Linked DNA regions of Homo sapiens: region 2 is linked to region 1. The links are contacts of gene promoters, found by promoter capture Hi-C in human tissues and cell types (Jung and others, 2019). All regions are on one chromosome and are shown on one strand. The core of a region is centred on a gene start or on the middle of the fragment in contact, and the rest is flanking DNA. Distances in the headings are between cores, read along the strand shown.

What was found. Contacts are between HindIII fragments. The study calls those that stand out against the background at their distance.
Region 2: a contact is called between a fragment that was not itself captured here and the fragment with the promoter of ZNF37A in region 1, in 1 of the 25 tissues and cell types used here (dorsolateral prefrontal cortex).

What each region holds. Positions count from the first base shown.
Region 1 is chr10:38,092,831-38,096,935 of GRCh38, reverse strand. It overlaps ZNF37A (zinc finger protein 37A), which reads right to left and starts at 2,599. Exons shown (of 8, transcript NM_001324250.3): 1 at 2,446-2,599; 2 at 1,712-2,005; 3 at 1,307-1,398; 4 at 1,132-1,192; 5 at 304-362. The coding sequence starts at 318. RefSeq lists an enhancer at 2,456-2,645. The HindIII fragment of the contact is 17,106 bases long and covers 1-4,105 here.
Region 2 is chr10:38,056,315-38,060,540 of GRCh38, reverse strand. ZNF33A (zinc finger protein 33A) reads right to left here. Exons shown (of 5, transcript NM_006954.2): 5 at 454-4,226. The coding sequence ends at 3,981. Among named protein-coding and RNA genes, the nearest start is that of ZNF37A, 36 kb to the left of the region's middle. The HindIII fragment of the contact is 5,674 bases long and covers 1-4,226 here.

The DNA of each region.
Region 1 (4,105 bases), core at 1,350-3,849:
CCAACAGACAACACATAAATACATGAGTATAGCTGAGTCCCAATAAAACTTTATATATAATGAAATCTGAATTTCATATAATTCTTGTTTTTTTTCCCTCAGCCACCTAAAAATATAAAAACCATCCTTCGTTTGTGGACCATAAAAAAACATGCGGCAGGCTGCATTTGACCCATGAAATGTAATGTGACCTCTCCTCTATATTTTCCCTGATGTTATTTCTACTTTCATATGAATGTATAGACATTTTTTAAACCTCAATAATTACTTTTAAGCAAAACGGTGAAAAAATAAACAACTTACCTGGGATGTGATCATCTTCCACTGGTGTTGGAAGAGCAGAGCAAACTGTGAGGGTGTAGCTGAGAAATAAGAAAAGATCATGAGTGATGTCACTTGCCTTAAAAGGTCCACTTCGCAGCCGGCAAAACATCTCTGAAAGGGAGATACTCACACGCCCATGCATGACTCTGGCATGATTATGTACTGCTTGGACTCATTAGTTTTCAAATGTAAAAACGTTTGTTTTCTACTGACTTAAAAACAATTTATGCTGTACTCTAACAGAGTATGCAAACCGATATATTAAACTAATTAAGCAAGTTAGGAAAAGCCAAAGAGTGGAACATAATACTTTCATTAAAACTGATGCTAAACAAAAATACTCAGGTTTTAATCTTTATTACAAACCAGAGAATCCCAACAAGGTTTTGAAAAAAGCGATGTGGTATTTTTCAGCCCAGTTTTTTTTGTTTGTTTGTTTGCTTTTTTGAGACAGAGTCCTGCCCTGTTTGTTGCCCAGGCTGGAGTGCGATGGCATGATCTCGACTCACCGCAACCTCCTGCCTCAGCCTCCCAAGTCGCTGGGACTACAGGTGCGCACCACCACACCCGGCTAATTTTTTGCATTTTTAGTAGAGACGGGGTTTCACCATGTTGGCCAGGCTGGTCTCGAACTCCTGACCTCTTGATCCACCCCCCTCAGCCTCCCAAAGTGCTGGGATTACTGGCGTGAACCACCGTGCCCAGCCCAGCCCAGTTTTTTTGGAAGGAAAACGAACTTGCTCTAACTTGATTTGAGGTTCTCAAAACAATCTTTGGATTTAAAAAAGCAAACTGATTTTTACTTACTCTGTTGTCAACGCAGCAAACACCCTCCTGAGTCCTCAAGCGACTCTGTCTGTTCTTGACTCTGCCACAACAAAATGTGTCAATGTCATCAGTAACTTAACACGTTAAGCTCGTTTCCTGTCCACCCCACCCCATCCCATCTTTTAAATAAAGCGTAAATAGATAACTTACAGACCTTTCTCGCGGCTGTACCTCTGATTCTGTAAGATCAAGATGGGGGCATCCGTACATCTCTAGTTGTGCTGCAGTGCGCCAGCAGCTCAGCATCTAGAACGAGCGAGTAACGAATCCAGGCATGGAGGGTGCTGTCCTCCACTTGGCTGCTAAGCTCTTCCCTCCGCATGATGCCTTCACAACTCCCCAAGAAGCGGTGCTGTCTGCTCCTTCGGCCTTGCCCTCTTCTGCCCCCACATCTGAATGGGCACAAAGCTCCCAGCCTGTGGGGGTCTGGAAAGGACACAAATCGAGCCTCTGCTCCTCCCACCCGTGCTCTAGATCTCTAGTGAGGTGTCAGCCCAACGGGTTGGGTGTCCTCCTAGGAGGGCCCCTGGGCCCTCGCCCCCCACCCTTCCCTTCTTACCCCACAACAGCTGCTTTGCTCCAAGACAGCTGGGCCTAAGCCCTTTGGTTCGAATCCTCATTCAAGACAGAAAGCTCCTACATCTTCCTGTCACTTGAGCCATGAGCTGGACCCTCTGAAAATGCCCACTGGTGCTAATGGGGACACAGGCGAGGCTGGACAGTGCCGGAGGGCCTGGGGTGCCTCCCTCCGCGTGCGCGGCCTCACAGGTCAGTGGAAACAAGAAATTCCCCAATCCACAGCCACGATGACTTCAAAATACTTCCCGAAGACATCAGGCAATGAAGCTGCGACCTGCGAGGACACAGCAAGCCGAGTGACGCTGGCCAGAGGCTGGGTGTGGAGTCCGCGCCTGCAGGGTCCCTCCCCGCCCCGCGGGCGCTTCCCCCCACCCCATTCGCCTCGGCATCGCAGTGACACCGCGGCGACGCCGACCACAGGTGGTTGTGAGGACAGCGAGATTCTGAGGGGAAAGAATGAGAGAAGCGCGCATCTATTGGGCAGAAGGCCCGTTTCTGCGCCGTCCTGCGGAGGCCTCCGGGCATCCTTCACCTCAGGGAAGAGAAAATCCAACCTCACTTGTCACAGGCGCGGGACTTGCGCATTCCCTTTGGGAGCACAAGAACCGAGGCAGGATTCGGACCCAGGCCAGGCGGCAAAGGCGTTCCCTCTCTCCCACCCCCAGGCCGCGCGGAACCCCCAGTCCACCCTCGCCCCTGCCCTCCCTTACTCACCCTCCGCGTCCTCTACCCGGACGCCAGGAGATGCCGGGAGCCCTCCCCGTCAGAGTGCCGGGGAGAAAAACAAACCTGGAGCCATATGGCAGACATGCCCAGAAGGCCCGAAGCGGCTCCCGCGACGGGGGCCGAAAAGTGCACACTACATCTCCCACAAGTCCTCGCGCCGCTCCCTTAGAAAGTGCACGCTTCATTTCCCACAAGCCCTCGCGCCGCTCCCTTAGAAAGTGCAGACTACATTTCCCACAAGCCCTCGCGCCACTCCTTTTGAAAGGGCATGAGGTTTCAGCCGCATTGGGCAGTTAGTTCCCAGATGCGGCAAGTGCAGTACTGCAGTTTTATTCGTTAGCTGAAATAAATTATGAGTATTTAAATTACACAGCTTTCTCATGAATTACATCCCCCTGATGATTTGGCCGTCCTCAACACTTCCTCATTTGGCAGAATTCACGAGTGGAATTTCTCCAGACGAGGTCGGTTCCTGTGGCCCCGCGACGCTGCCGCAGCACCACCTACACTTGCGCCAGTGTGGAGAGCTTCACTTGCTCCTTTCTGGTCCATTGGACGCTAACCGTGAGAAAACACGCTGGACATGAGCATTACCAGCCTGTAAGCTGTCGTAAAGATAACTCGGAATTGCTCTTCAAATTTTATTTGTTAAACCACGTAATACCATCTTGCATGGCAAACATGCATTTTCCATTCTTCAGGAGTATGCAGGATCTCTTGATCACGATAACTTTTTAAAGTTCACAGGCAGAGGTAATACAGGAGTGGAAAACCAAAAACCGTAGGTTCTCACTTATAAGTGGGAGCTAAGCTATGAGTACGCAGAGGCATACAGAGTGATATAATGGACTTTAGAGACTCAGAAGGGGCTGGTAGGAAGGAGGCCGGAGGTTAAAAAAACTACACATGGCCAGGCGCGGTGGCTCACGCCTGTAGTCTCAGCACTTTGGGAGGCGGAGGCGGGTGGATCACGAAGTCAGGAGTTCAAGACCAGCCTAGGTAACACGGTGAAACCCCGTCTCCACTAAAACTACAAAATTAGCTGGGCGTGGTGGCACACACCTGCAGTCCCAGCTATTTGGGAGGCTGAGGCAGGGGAATCCCTTGAACTCGAGAGGTGGAGGTTGTAGTGAGCTGAAATCGCGCCATTGCACTTCAGCTTGGGCAACAAGAGCAAAACTCCATCTCAAAAATGAAAAAAAAAAAACTATACATTAGGTACAGTGTACACTACTCAGGTGACAGGTGCACTAAAATCTCAGAATCCACCACTTTATAATTCATCCATAACCAAAAACCACTTGTACTCCAAAAGCTATTGAAGTTTAAGTTAAAATAAAAATAAAAAATAAATGTCCACTGACCAAAAAAGAAGCATTTTTCTCCATTTCTATTCCCTTCTTTACCACCACTGATGATAATCCCACTTGTTCCCATGCTGGAAAAGCATTTAGTACCATCCATGTAAAAGAATCAAATTATTCAAGGGTTGAGATGCATTTCAGAAGACAGTCATGGTAAGTACAACAATGATTATCACTTCGAGACACAATTTATTTTCCTGCTCATAATGTTTTTTTTTTTTTTTTTTTTTTTTGAGATGGAGTCTGGCTCTGTAACCCAGGCTGGAGTGCAGTGACATGATCTC
Region 2 (4,226 bases), core at 1,279-3,778, 36 kb after region 1:
AGAAGGACACCACATGCTGGGAAGAGCCACACAGGGTTCGACTAGGGAGCAGAGTGGAAAAGGAGGGGTTGTGGCGAGCAGCTGTATTATCCAGAGTACAGTGACCACTGTTTGCTGTGGGAGGATGTGAGGGGTTTGGTGATAATTCCAAGAGCTGGCAGGGAAGCAAATCTTACTACTTAGGAATAAGCAGGAATTGTGCCTGGCCCCCCTGACAAGGAGGACTGTCTGCTAAGTTACCTCACCTGTGGAAGCAGAGTGGGGATGGAAATGAGGTTAGGTCATTTGAGGCCCTATTGGCTTCAGATGTCAAGAGAACCAAAAATACTAGTCCTTAATTTCAGGTCACAGTTACCATAATTTAAAATATATTAAGGATGTACAAAAGCAATTCAATTGTTCACTAATGATGATTTACATGTTCAGTCAGAAACATACAACTAACAAAAGAACACCTTAGTACAGAAACAAGATGTTCCTCAGGGTTGGTTGGTTGGTTATTTATTTACTTGATACACTTCATTTTTTAGAGTAGCTTTAGGGTTACAGAAAGTTGAGCAAAAAGTATAGAGAATTCTCATATAACCCTTTCCCCTCCCATCTTCCACAGGCTCCCCAATCATTAACATCTTGCATCATTATGGTTCATTTGTTACAATTAATGAGCCAACAGTGATACATTATTATTAACTGAAGTCCAGAGTTGACATTAGGGTTTACTCTGTGTTTTCCGTTCACTGTTTTCCATTCTCTGCGTTTTGACAAATTACAGTACCCTAGAGAGTACTTTCACTGCCTTAAAAATCACCTCTCTACCTGCCATCCCTCCTTTCCCCTCAACTCTCAGCAACCACTGGTCCTTTCACTGGCTCAATAGTTTTGCCTCTCCCAAAATGTCATATAATTGCAATCATACAAAATAGAAAGCCTTTTCAGATTGGTTTTCACTTAACAATAAGCATTTAGGGTTTCTCCGTGTCTTTTAATGACTTGATGTCCAATTCCTTTTTATCATCTACCTGAGGACTGTATCCTGCAATCCTGCTGTAATTGCTTATTAATGTCAGCAGGGTTTTTGTTATTTAGAATTCTCTACAAAGACAATCATGTTACTTGTGAACAAAGTTGTATTTCATCCTTTCAAATCTATGTGCATTTTATTTCTTTTTTTTTTAACACTGCATTATATAGCACTTCCAGTACAATGCTGAAAAGCAGTGGTGTGGTGTTCCTTGCCATGTTCCTGATCTTAGTAGGAAAGTGTCTAGTTGGAAACATCAAGGATAATGTTAGCTGTAGGGTTTTTTGTAGTATGTTCTTTACCAACTTGAGTAAGTTCTCCTGTATTCCTTCTGTGTTGAGAGGTTTTAACATGAATGGATATTGGATTTTGTCAAATGCTTTTTCTGTACCTATTGATATGATCGTATTTCATCTTTGAGCTGCTAATGCATGCAATGGATTACACTGAATATCAAATGTTGAACAAGCCTTGCATTCCTGATTTGCTAATATTTTGAGGATTTCTGCATCTGTGTTCAATGGAAATATTGATCTGTAGTTTTCCTTTCTTGTAATATCTTTGCCTGGTTTTGCTATTAGGGTAATACTGGCCTCACAAAATGAGTTGGGAAGTGTTATCTCTGCTTTTATTTTCTGAAAGAGATGGTAGAGACTTGGTATCATTTCTACCTTAAGTATCTCAAAAACACATCAGTGAACCCAGCTGGTCCTGGCACTTTGTTTTGGAAAGTTTCATTATTATTTTTTGAGATGCAGTCTCATTCTGTCACCCAGGCTGCAGTACAGTGGCACAATCTCAGCTCACTGCAACATCCACCTCCCAGGTTCAAGTGATTCTTCTGCCTCAGCCTCCTGAGTAGCTTCGACTACACACGCATGCCACCATGCCCAGCTAATTTTTTGTATTTTTAGTAGATAGGGGGTTTCACCATGTTGACCAGGCTGGTCTCGAACTCCTGACCTTGTGATCCACCCGCCTCAGCCTCCCAAAGTGAAGTGCTGGGATTACAGGCATGAACCACTGTACCTGGCCTTGGAAGGTTATTAATTACTGCTTTGGTTTATTTAATAGATACATATGCCTATTGAGGTCTATCTTGTGTGAGCTTTGAGAGAATGCGTCTTGCAAGGAATTGGTCCATTTTAGCTAAGTTATCAAATTTATGGACAGAGTTGTCCATGTTTCTTTCTAATCCTTTTGGTGACCATAGGATTAGCTGTGATGGCCTCTTTCATTTTTGGTATTAGCAATATTTGTCTTCTGTTTGTTCTTAAGCTAGCTAGAGGTTTATCAATTTTACTGACCTTTTCAAGGAACCAGTTTTGGGTTTTATCGATTTTCTCTTTTCAATTTCAATGATTTTTACTCTAATGTTTTTTCAGGTTACTTTGGATTTAATTTGCTCTTCTTTTTCTAGTTTCCTAAAGTGGAAGCTTAGATTACTTGTGTAATCTAGGATCACTAGACTGTATAATCTTAGATTATTTGTATGATCTGATCATGTAATATAGTGTACAATCTTCACACTATCAATAAAAGCCCCACACCAGCTTGATTCTGGTTCTGCTCCAGCCTCAACCCTCCTCTTCATATTCTCAAAAGTCTGAGGGCCCAGATCCCTGTCTGGGGACAATGAGCCTTGAAATGACAGTCCAACAGCCCTGGGCAGCCCTGGGCTGTATGTGTGGGCCTTTCCAGGGCCCTGTCTTGGAGAGCAGCTGCTTAAAGAAAATTTGGACTACCACTTATGCTGAAGGCTGGAATGTTCACATATGTACCCTAGGCACTTCATGGCATGGCATGAGCCACAGGTAGGAAGAGAAAGGGAGTAACATGGAGGCGAGCCTAGATCTTCACATGTACAGGATAGATTTTTTTTAGATAATTTGTTATTTTGATTTATACCTTTTAAATGGATAAACATTAGCTCTGTGGGTCTCCTTTTAAATTGTTTCAGGACATCACAAACATCTGGGATGGGCCTGATAATGTAACCACTACTAAACTAGGATACCTACTTCCTATTCACAATTACGTTAAATTCCATTATGCATATGAAACACACGATTTATATCACATACCACTTATACATATATAAGTCTTTTGAACTTCAGGGATAATTCGCAGATGTGCTTAATGCTATTGCCCTGATTATTCAATTTATCTGTGCTTTAAAAAAACTTCATAGTCAAGTGGATGCAAGGGATAGGGTTGCAGAAAGCGTGTGGTTATTAATACAAAAAGGGAACTACTTGAGGCTAAATCCTTTGTAATCCTGATACAGTACAGATCTCAGATTCCTTTTCAGTTCTGTAAACTAATCGTGTTGATGGTTACTCAAATGTAAAAGTCGTAAAAGTTTGATATAACCACACACACACACATACACGTACACACACACACAGAGTGCATGCAAACCATAGTAAAATCTGACTAAGTCTCTATCTACCAGCAAGGTAACATCGATTTCTTGGACTTGACCATATACTATGATTATACATTATCCTTAGAGGAAGTTTGGTGAAGTGTACATGGGAATTCTCTCTACTCATTAAACTTCTTGTGAGGTTATTTTAATTATTACCTTTGTTTAAGTTCTTAAAGCTTTACATTCCACAATATACATCTATAAATTATTGTTAGGTGCCCTAAAAACTATTATGGCATCAAACTCAAAACATAACTTGTCGTATTTTATTTCTAAGCAAAATTTTCACTTTAGATTTCTTAAATTGACAATTTTCTCCTCAGTGTAAATTCTAACATAACCTTATTTGCATTTTTGCCAAAAACTTTCACAAATTCAAAAAAAATCTGTAAGGTGTTATGCCCGTATTAACCATCTGATATTACATAGAATATCACTTCCTAACAAAAGCTGTCCTATAATTGTTGTAGTCTATGGGTTTATCCCCTACTATTACTTTGGAGTAACATAAGGTGAGTTTGTGGATAGTTACTGAACATTCAGGATGTCATCAGGGCTTTCTCCACAGTGTGAATACTCTGAGGCATTATGGAGGCTGACTTGTGGCTGGAAATTTCTAATATCCATTTCATTCATAAGGTTTTCTCCTATATGTCTTCTCTGATGTACAATGAGATTTGACTTTTGAGAGAAAGTTTTCCTGCATGTGTTACATTCATAGGGCTTTTCCCCTGTATGTGATCTCTGATGTTGAGCAAGTTCCGATTTACGGTA